Regions from separate parts of the Homo sapiens genome. Here all the other regions are linked to region 1. Evidence: promoter capture Hi-C in human tissues and cell types (Jung and others, 2019). All regions are on one chromosome and are shown on one strand. The core of a region is centred on a gene start or on the middle of the fragment in contact, and the rest is flanking DNA. Distances in the headings are between cores, read along the strand shown. Region 1 has its middle 19 kb from the start of ACP7. Region 2 holds the start of IFNL1 (interferon lambda 1). Region 3 holds the start of LGALS4 (galectin 4).

What was found. Contacts are between HindIII fragments. The study calls those that stand out against the background at their distance.
Region 2: a contact is called between the fragment with the promoter of IFNL1 here and a fragment that was not itself captured in region 1, in 9 of the 25 tissues and cell types used here (H1 embryonic stem cells, adrenal gland, dorsolateral prefrontal cortex and 6 more).
Region 3: the fragment with the promoter of LGALS4 here is called in contact with a fragment that was not itself captured in region 1 in 1 of the 25 tissues and cell types used here (thymus).

Annotation. Positions count from the first base shown.
Region 1 is chr19:39,063,373-39,066,990 of GRCh38, reverse strand. No RefSeq gene overlaps it. Among named protein-coding and RNA genes, the nearest start is that of ACP7, 19 kb to the left of the region's middle. The HindIII fragment of the contact is 4,534 bases long and covers 1-3,578 here.
Region 2 is chr19:39,294,254-39,297,916 of GRCh38, reverse strand. IFNL1 (interferon lambda 1) reads right to left here and starts at 1,510. Exons shown (of 5, transcript NM_172140.2): 1 at 1,325-1,510; 2 at 1,035-1,112. The coding sequence starts at 1,495. The HindIII fragment of the contact is 11,779 bases long and covers 1-2,613 here.
Region 3 is chr19:38,811,695-38,815,319 of GRCh38, reverse strand. LGALS4 (galectin 4) reads left to right here and starts at 2,375. Exons shown (of 10, transcript NM_006149.4): 1 at 2,375-2,478; 2 at 2,801-2,889. The coding sequence starts at 2,434. The HindIII fragment of the contact is 29,723 bases long and covers 1-3,625 here.

The DNA.
Region 1 (3,618 bases), core at 62-2,561:
GAATCACGAGGTCAGGAGATCGAGACCATCCTGGCTAACATGGTGAAACCCCGTCTCTACTAAAAATACAAAAAATTAGCCAGGCGCGGTGGCAGGCGCCTGTAGTCCCAGCTACTCGGGAGGCTGAGGCAGGAGAATGGCGTGAACCCGGGAGGTGGAGCTTGCAGTGAGCTGAGATCGCACCACTGCACTCCAGCTTGGGTGACAGAGCGAGACTCCGTCTCAGAAAAAAAAAAAAAAAAAAAGACGGTCTCGCTCTGTTGCCCAGGCTGGAATGCAGTGGTGCGATCTCGGCTCACTGCAACCTCTGCCTCCTGAGTTCAAGCGATTCTCCTGTCTCAGCCTCCCGAGTAGCTGGGATTACAGACCCCCACCACCACGCCCGACTAATTTTTGTATTTTTAGTGGAGACAGGGTTTCATTATGTTGGCCAGGCTGGTCTCGAACTCCTGACCTCAAGTGATCCACTCACCTCAGCCTCCCAAAGTGCTGGAGTTACAGGCGTGAGCCACGGCGCCCGGACTTAAGAGCCATTCTTATTTCCTTTTCTATGAACTATTTGTTCACATTCTCTGTGTATTTTTTCCCCTGATGAGATTGTTCCTTTTCTTATTCATTTGTGGGAAATCTATTAAAATTAGCCCTTTGCATGTGATGCAATTTGGAAGTATTTTTCCAGGTTTGTCATGTTAATTCTGGATTGATCAAATATAGACATCATTATGAACGATGAGCATTCAGCTCTCACCCCAACACTCTTTTTATTCCCCATCCCTGTGATTTCTGTTATTAGAACTCACTCTACCACGTTTAATCCTCTTTCAAACACAAGCTTCTGACTGTCAGTCTTCTCGGATAAAATCATGATGATCTAATCATATCTCAGACATTGCTGCAAAAGAGGTAAGAGATCTATGTTTGAAAGTCTGGCAAGTACCATTTTAGTTTTTTCAATGTTTTTGACTACAGTTCAAAATAAGACATGTACTTATATCACAACCTAGCACACATGCATATATGTATATCTATTACATAATTAAAGTTTACAAAACTTGGCCAGTTGCGGTGGCTCACGCCTGTAATCCCAGGACTTTGGGAGGCCAAGGCAGGTGGATCACTTGAGGTCAGGGGTTCAAGACCTGCCTGGCCAACATGGTGAAACCCCGTCTCTACTAAAAGTACAAAAAAATTTAGCCGGGCATGGTGGCACGCATCTGTAATCCCAGCTACTCGGGAGGGTGAGGTGGGAGAATTGCTTGAACCCAGGAGGCGGAGGTTGCAGTGAGCTGAGATCATGCCACTGCACTCCAGCCTGGGTGACAGAGTGAGACTCTGTCTCAAAAAAAAAAAAGTTTTATATAACTTGTGCAAGACTCACAATGTGGGCAGTGCCAGCCTCTAATCTCTTCTGTTTTTGCTTTTGTTTTTAAATGCTGGTCTAAATCCACTTAATTGATTTCAAGGCCTTAGCAGATCTCTATCTGCTTTCTAGAACAAGTCTATGTTTTTTGTTAATTTTGAGACAGGGTCTTGCTCTGTTGCCCAGGCTGGAGTGCAGTGGCAAGATCTTGGCTCACTGCAACCTCTGCTTCCCGAGTTCAAGCGCTTCTTGTGTCTTAGCTTCCCAGACAGCTGGGATTACAGGCACCCGCCACCACGCCTGGCTAATTTTGTATTTTTAGTACAGGTGGGGTTTCTCCATGTTGGCCAGGCTGGTCTGGTCTTGAACTCCTGACCTCAGGTGATCCACCCACCTTGCCCTCCCAAAGTGCTGGGATTACAGGCCTGAGCCACCATGCTTGGCCAAATCTATACTTTTAAAGTTTCTATGCAGATATTTTAAAATTTGTTTTATTCCACTCGAGTGAGGTATAATTTACATTATAATTACGGTAAAACGCGCCCACTTTAAGTGTGCAGTTGGATGAGTTTTGACAATTGTACACCACCTCAATCAAGGCAGAGAACATTTCTCTCCAGAACATTCCTTTGTGCCCTTTTGCAGTCAATCCTCTTACCGCCCGCCCCCCACCCCCAGGGGTAACGGCTGTTTTGATTTTTAGCATAGATTAGTGTTATAATAAATATTTTATATGCTCCCTTTACCACCCTGAAATAAAGTTTATGGATAATATAACCCACCCACATACAAAATAAAATTTTTAATCAAGATAATGTCCTTATTATAATGAAGAAAGAATAAGCGGAAAGTAATTTATAGTAAAATGTTCAAAAAGCTCAGACTTAACTAAGCTATAAAACATAATAAAGGGTTAGGGGTGTGCCAGGGGCAGAAGCTTTGTGAATGCCAGCTGGAGAGCCACAAATAAAGACAGACACAGCTTTGTGACTCTGGCACCAAATGGTGAACAATGAACACACATTCCTGGTTCTACCCAGTAGTTGCATTCCTGAAAAATTTAAAACTGTTTACGGGCCCGGTGCGGTGGCTCATGCCTGTAATCACAACAGTTTGGGAGGCTGAGTTGGGAGGATCGCTTGAGCCCAGGAGTTTGAGATTACAGTGAGCCATGATCACACCACTGCACTCCAGCCTGGGTGATGGAGCGAGACCCTGTCTCTAACAACGACGACAACAAACCTGGTTATGAGTATAATGGAGTTCCATGTTGGGCTTAGGTAATTTTGTTTTTTTGTTTTGAGACAGGGTCTCGCCCTGTCACCCAGGCTGGAGTGCAGTGGCATGATCATGGCTCACTGTAATCTCAAACTCCTGGGCTCAAGTGATCCTCCCACCGTGGCCTCCCAAAGTGCTGGGATTACAGTCATGAGTCACTGCGTCCGCCCCAGGGCATATTTATTTATTTATTTATTCTTTCTTTCTTTTCTTTTCTTTTTTTTTGACAGAGTCTCACTCTGTTGCCCAGGCTGGAGTACAGTGGCTCGATCTCAGCTCACTGCAACCTCAATCTCCCTGGATCAAGAGATTCTCCTGCCTCAGCCTCCCAAAATGCTGGGATTACACATGTGAGCCACCACGCCTGGCCTGGGCACATTTCTTCCTTTTTTTTTTTGAAACAGAGTCACTCTGCCACCCAGGCTGGAGTGCAGTGGTGCGATCTCGGCTCACTGCAACCTCCACCTCCTGGGTTCAAGTGATTCTCCTGCCTCAGCCTTCCAAGTAGCTGGGAGTGCAGGCGCCCGCTACCATGCCTGGCTAATTTTTTTTTTTTTTTTTTTTGTATTTTTAGTAGAGACGGGGTTTCACTATGTTGGTCAGGCTGGTCTCAAACTCATGTCCTCAAATGATCTGCCCACCTCGGCCTCAAAAGTGCTGGGATTACAAGCGTGAGCCACCACGCTGGGCCTCTCAGGTATTTCTTTATAGCAATACGAGAACAGACAAATACAGGTAGCTTGTCTGATATTACACAGCTTGTAACTGGTCCAGGTCTCTCCCAGTCCGCAGTTTCACCGAAGGCTCCGTACTCTGCCCAAGGCTCCATACTCCGCCCATCCTCAGCATTAAAACACACAGGTGTTTCTGCTGAAGCAGGAGCCGCTTCAGCAGAGATTTCCTAAAAGCCTCAGTTTATTTTAAATCACTGCAAGTGTAGCCTTTTTAAAATTTTTTTAGACGGAGTTTTGCTCTTCCCA
Region 2 (3,663 bases), core at 261-2,760, 230 kb before region 1:
CCCAGTTAGTGGGGACAGGTAGGCAGTCCTGGGGAAGGTCGGTGACACAGTGCATGTGGTGGGGACAGGTGAGGGGTCTGGGGAGAAGGAGACAGGAGGGGGAAGACATGAGGAAGGATACAGGTGAGGCAGGATGGTCAAGGAGGCAGGTGAGGGGATAAGTGAAATGGAGACAAATGAAAGGGGACTTACGGGGGTCACAGAAGTTCTCTGGGGCGGGGTGGGGACGGGTGAGGAGAAAGCAGGTTGGGGGCACAGTAAGAGAGGGACAGTTGCATGCACAGAGAAGAAGGGTAGGGCTGGGTGTGGTGGCTCACGCCTGTAATCCCAGCACTTTGGGAGGCCGAGGCGGGTGGATCACCTGAGGTCAGGATTTCGAGACCAAGCCTGGCCAACATAGTGAAACCCCGTCTCTGCTAAAAATACAAAAATTAGCTGGGCATCATGGCACATGCCTGTAATCCCAGCTACTCGGGAGGCTGAGGCAGGATAATTGCTTGAACCCGGGAGGCAGAGGTTGCAGTGAACCGAGATCATGCCACTGCACTCCAGCCTGGGCCATAGAGCAAGACTCTGTCTCAAAAAAAAAAAAAAAAAAAAAAAAAAGAGAAGGGTGGATGAGGGGGGAGCATGAGCTGGATGAATGTCAGTGAGAGATAATGAGGGACAGGTGACAGAGGCAGGTGAGAGGGAGAGGGGGTCAGTGTTGGGAACAGACAGGGAGAAGTGGAGCAGGACGAAAGGCACAGGTGGGCGACAGACTGGAGACATTTGGGAGAGAAATGAAGAGTGAGAGTGGAAGTGACAGGGACAGGTGAGCGAGCTAGGGAAGTGGGGCCGATGGGAGATGATAAAAGGGACCCAGGGGAAGGACAGAGTCAAGAGAGCAGTTTTGAAGTGGCAGGGGCACAGGACAGGTGAGGAGAGGTCCAAGAGAGTGAAGGACAAGGGAAACAAAGAAGGCTAAGGGGCCACTTAAGAAGAGGGGGGAGAGGGTCAAGGGAAGGGTGAAGGGGGCCTGACTTTCAGCTCACCTGGAGAAGCCTCAGGTCCCAATTCCCGGGGAAGACAGGAGAGCTGCAACTCCAGTTTTTCAGCTTGAGTGACTCTTCCTAGAGAGCAAGGGCAGGGGTTAGCCCACAGCAGGATGGCTGGAAGCTAGCTCATAGCAGCAAGGATGAAGTTGGCCTGACAGCATGGGTTTAACCCAGTGCAGAAAGGATAGAGGTTTGCCATAGTTGGAAGGCTAGAGGCTAGCCCACAGTAGAAGGGCAGTAATTGGGACACCCGTAGAAGTGGTTCATCCACAGCAACAGGAACTCACCAAGGCGTCCCTGGCCTTCTTGAAGCTCGCTAGCTCCTGTGGTGACAGAGATTTGAACCTGCCAATGTGGCAGCCCTTCCCAGTTGTGGTGGGCTTGGAAGTGGGGACAGGGCCTGCCACGGCCAAGCCTAGCACCAAAGTCACCAGCACCACGGTCCAAGCTGCAGCCATGGCTAAATCGCAACTGCTTCCCCAGCGGCATGGCTCTGCTTTTTAGCCACGCAAAATGGGCAATCCAAGATGATGTGTGTAAAGTGAAAAGGTAATTGGAAATGAGAATTTCCACTTTGACTTAAGAGGCATGAGTGGGCGGGGCCCGTCTGGGAGCCTGATGAGGGAACAGGTGTGGGCAGGGCCAAGTGAGCTGGGAGCTGCATCAAGAAGGAAAGAGAAACTGAAATCCTTAGAACTCCCTGGGCAGCTTTCAGCCAACTGGCCTCAGGGAGTCCCTGACGGAGGCTGAGATTAGGGATAAGGCTACCTGAGTGGCAGAGAGGAAGCTTCTTTTTTATTCTAAATTAGCCAGGTGTGGTGGCATGCGCCTGTGGTCTCAGCTACTCAGGAGGCCGAGGCATGAGAATCACTTGAACCCGGGAGGCGGAGGTTGCAGTGAGCCAAGATCGTGCCACTGCACTCCAGCCTGGGTGATGGAGTGAGATCCTGTTTCAAAAAAAAAAAAGCTTGTTTTTTATTTTATTGTTATTATTATTTTTTGAGACGTAGTTTTGCTCTTGTTGCCCAGGCTGGAGTGCAATGGTGCAATCTTGGCTCACTGCAACTTCTGCCTCCCGAGTTGAAGCGATTCTCCTGCCTCAGCCTCCTAAGTAGTTGGGATTACAGGTGCATGCCATCACGCCTGGCTAGTTTTTGTATTTTTAGTAGAGACTGGGTTTTACTATGTTGGTCACGCTGGCTTCGAACTCCTGACTTCAGATGATCTGCCTGCCTTGGCCTCCCAAAGTGCTGGGATTACAGGCGTGAGCCACCACCTTACTTTATTATTTATTTATTTATTTTTGTAGAGATAGGGGTCTCACTATGTTGCCCAGGCCAGTCTTGAACTCCTGGCCTTAAGCCATCCTCCTGCTTCAGCCTCGCAAAGTGCTAGTATTAAAGGCATGAGCCACTGCTCCTGGCCAAGAAGGAGCTTCTGCCATTGGTTTAAGAATGTCCCATTAACTAATTTCAGTTCATGCTCCTAATGTTTCTCTGAGTAGTTATTTTTATAATTGTGATGGTTAATTTTAGGTGTCACCTTGACTGGTTAAGTTTATCAGATAGCTGGTGATGCGTTAATTCTGGGTATGACTCTGGGGTGTTTCCAGAAGAGATTGGCATTTGAATCAATGGACTGAGTAAGGAAGACCCGTTGTTACCCAATGTGGTGGGCACCATCCAATTGGCCGAGGGCCTGAATAGAACAAAAAGGCAGAGGAAAGGAGAATTTGCTCTCTCTTATGAGCTGGGACACCCTGCACCTGCCCTTAAACATCAGAACTCCAGGCTCTTTGGTCTTTGAATGCTGGGATGTGCAGCTGGGCATGGTGGCTCACGCCTGTAATCCCAGCAGTTTGGGAGGCTGAGGCAGGTGAATCACTTGAGGTCAGGAGTTCGAGACCAGCCTGGCCAACATGGTGAAACCCCATCTCTACTAAAAATATAAAAATCAGCCAGGCGTGGTGGCACAGGCCTGTAGTCCCAGCTACTTGGGAGGCTGAGGCAGGAGTATCGCTTGAACCCTGGAGGCGGAGGCTGCAGTGAGCTGAGATCATGTCACTGCACTCCAGCCTGGTCAACAGAGTGAGACTCCATCTCAGAAAAAAAAAAAATGCTGGGACTTGCACTAGCTACCCCCTAAGTCCTGAGGCTTTTATTCTGGAACTGAGCTGCACTACAAGCTTCCCTGGTTCTCCAGCTTGCAGATGGCCTGTTGTGGAACTTCTTAGCCTCCCTAATTGTCTGAGCCAATTCCCCTAATAAATCCCCTCCTATCTCTCTCTCATCTATCTAGTCTCTCTCTCTCTCTCTCTCTCTCTCTCTCTCTATCTAGTCTATCTCTCTCATCTATCTAGTCTATATCTCTCTATCTATCATCTATTTATCCAAACATCCTATTTGTTCTGTCTCTCTGGAGAACCCTGACTAATACAATAATCATGCCCATTTTACTAGTGAGATAACTGAGGCATAGGAAGGCAAAGTGACTTGCCTAAGGTCCCACAGTGGGATAGAGGCAGAAATGGGGTATGATGAGTCCTATGTACTTGCTCCCTATTCCATATGCAGCCCAGGTAGAAGATGAGAACCTCTGGGGGTAGCAGGCCCACTTCTCCTTTCTG
Region 3 (3,625 bases), core at 1,126-3,625, 250 kb after region 1:
TGGGAATGGGTGGCATGGAGGTGATGGCCATTCAGACTGGCAGCGGGCAGGCGAGGGGCACAAGGAATTCCGGGGCGGAGGGAGTGAGCAAAAGTCGCTGGGGTCCCTCTGGGTTGCAAGGCTTCCTGGTCTCCCTGCCTGCCCTGGGGTTGAGGGTGGCGTTCGTGCCCTGCCTGGCACCTCTCACTGCACAGCACATGGGATCTGATGCTGGCGTCTCACACCTGTAATCCCAGCACTTTTGGAGGCTGACGCAGGTGGATTGCCTGAGCTCAGGAGTTTGCAACCAGCCTAGTCAACATGTTGAAACCCAGTCTCTACTAAAAATACAAAAATTAGCTAGGTGTGGTGGCAGGTGCCTCTAGTCCCAGCTACTCGGGAGGCTGAGGCAGGAGAATCCTTGAACCCAGGAGGTGAGTTTGCAGTGAGCTGAGATCATGCTGCTGCAGTCCAGCCTGGGTGACAGAGTGAGACTCTGTCTCAAAAAAAGAAAAAACAAAACAAAAAAGGACTTTGGGGTTTCTGGCCGGGTGCAGTGGCTCATGCCTGTAATTCCAGCACTTTGGGAGGTTGAGGCAGGTGGATCACTTGAGGTCAGGAGTTTGAGACCAGCCTGGCCAACATGGCAAAACCTGGTCTCTACTAAAAATACAAAAATTAGCCAGGCGTGGAGTAAGCCTGTAATCCCAGCTATTCAGAAGGCTGAGGCAGGAGAATCCCTTGAACCTGGGAGGTGGAGGTTGCAGTGAGCTGAGATGGTGCCACTGCACTGCAGCCTGGGTGATAGAGCAAGACTCTGTCTCAAAAATGAGCAAACAAAACTTTGGGATTTTTTATCCATATATCATCCCAATCTTCCGGATTTATGTTTGGAATGACTGCAAGAGACCAAGCATTAAGTTAATGACTTCTATATGCTATGTCCTGTTCTGAGCATTTATTATCTTAATGATCAAGGACTCTATGAAGTTGATACTATTATGATTATTATTATTATGACTATTATTGTTGCTATTTTTAGAGACGGACTCTTAGTCTGTCACCCAGGCTGGAGTGCAGTGGCATGATCATAGCTCACTGTAACCTTAACTCCTGGGTTCAAGCGATCCTCCTGCCTCAGCCTCTGAGTAGCTAGGAATACAGATGTGTGCTACCATGCCCAGCTAATTTTTATTTTATTTTTGTAGAGATGGGGGTCTCACTATGTTGCCCAGGCTGGTCTTGAACTCCTGGGCTCAAGCAGTCCTCCTGCTTCAGCTTCCCAAATTGCTGGGATTGTAGGCACAAGCCACCACACCCAGCCTAAGGTTGATACTACTCTTTTCTTTATTTATTTATTTTTCTGAGTGGCAGTTGGACCCACAGCTAGAACTTATTTGGCAGATTAATAACATACAGGCATTACTGGATCACAAATTCATTTTTAAAATATTTTGATAGCTATTCAATACTTGTTTCCTCTCTTATGAATTCCTTTTTTTTTTTTTTTTTTTTTGAAACAGAGTCTCCATCTGTCATCCAAGCTGGAGTGCAGTGGCGTGACCTTGGCTCACTGCACTCTCCTCCACTCAGGTTCAAGTGATTCTCCTGCCTCAGCCTCCAAGTAGATGGGATTATAGGCACCCACCACCATGCCTGGCTAATTTTTGTATTTTTAGTAGAGACTGGGATTTTGCCAGGCTGGTCTCGAACTCCTGCCCTCAGGTGATCCATCCACCTCGGCCAGTCAAAGTGCTGGGATTACAGGCATGAGCCACTGCACCCAGCCGATACTACTATATCCCCATTTTACAGATGAGCACATGGGCAAATTGAGGGTAAGGCACTGACCCATGATCATACAGCTGAGAAGTGGCAAAGGCAGGATTTGAACCTAGAACCTCTGGCTCCACACACTAGTAATCTAAACCACTCTCCCTACAATACAACATACGTGGTAAAGATGTGTGGTGGGCACGCAATCAACGTAGGTCCCTTCACAGTTGCTGGGAGAGGCAGGAATTTGCAGTTCCTCCGCGTTCTCCTCCTCCGCTGCCCACCTGTCCTGGGTCATTCCTGCAGCCTGCCCTGCCCTGCCTGGTCTCACCCTCCCTCTGCCAACAGAAGTCTGGGCAGGGTTTTATGGGCTCTGATAAGGCCCTGGCAGGGCCGAAGTTCATGAGCACTTCCTCTTTGCAGGAGGGCGTAGGGGAGGGGACCCAGGTGATTTGGGTCCTGGCTGGTCACCAGGGAAGCTGGCAAGGGAAGGGAGACTAGGGTGCGCTCTAGGAGAAGCCGACAGCCTGAGAGTCCCAGAAGAGGAGCCCTGTGGACCCTCCCCTGCCAGCCACTCCCTTACCCTGGGTATAAGAGCCACCACCGCCTGCCATCCGCCACCATCTCCCACTCCTGCAGCTCTTCTCACAGGACCAGCCACTAGCGCAGCCTCGAGCGATGGCCTATGTCCCCGCACCGGGCTACCAGCCCACCTACAACCCGGTGAGATGCCAGCTCAGGCCCCACTCCGCCCGCAGCTCCGTCCATAAGCCCTCACACCAATTTTCCCCACTCTGATCCTGGGGGGCCCCATCTGACTCTGTGGTCTGATTTACCCAAAGCTGACCCCGACCCTCGATTTACTCCTACCCTGACCTCAGGCTGTCTGTGTCCACGTCTAACTGTTGGCCCTCGTCATCTTCAACCTGGTCCTCCCCCATGGTTTCCTCTCTCCTGCTTAAGGGACTGGGGGGCTTTTCTGGGAGGGGTAAAGGCTGCAACAGGCAGATGGCTTGTGAGTCCCCTCACCAGGCCTCTTCTCCAGACGCTGCCTTACTACCAGCCCATCCCGGGCGGGCTCAACGTGGGAATGTCTGTTTACATCCAAGGAGTGGCCAGCGAGCACATGAAGCGGTAAGACCCTCCCCAAGCCAGGCCGGGCTGGCAGGGGACTTCCAACTGGGTGCTCTGGGCCTGGCTGTTGGGGGCTTTCTGCCCTTACCCCACCCTGGTGGAGAGGGGACTCTTTTTCTGCCCCACCCAATAGCCAGAGATGAATCTGGGGCAGATCAGGAGTGGGGACGTGGGGGCCAGAAGGTTCAGGGAGGGCTCACCGTGAGAGGCAGTCCCTGAGTTGGACATTAGACTGAAGCTGATGGGTGCAATGGCAGGAATTCAGATCACAGGCTCAGAGCCGGGTCCCCGAGTTAAAATCCCAGCTCTGCCACTCCCCAGCTCTGTGTTGGTGAAAGAGTGAAAGTGACTATACCTCTCTGTGCTTCATTTTCTTTTCTTTTCTGTTTTTGTTTTTTTTGTTTTTTTTTTTGTTTTGAGATGGAGTTTTGCTCTTGTCGCCCAGGCTGGAGTGCAATGGCATGATCTTGGCTCACTGCAACCTCTGTCTCCCAGGTTCAAGCGATTCTCCTGCCTCAGCCTCTTGAGTAGCTGGGATTACAGGCATGTGCCAGCACACTGGCTAATTTTTGTATTTTTAGTAGAGATGGGGTTTCACCATGTTGGTCAGGCTGGTCTCGAACTCCTGACCTCAAGTGATCCTCCCATCTCGGCCTCCCAAAGTGCTGGGATTACAGGCGTGAGCCACTGCGCCTGGCCCAGTCTTAGCTTTTTAAAAAGGGCCTTAACACGTTGA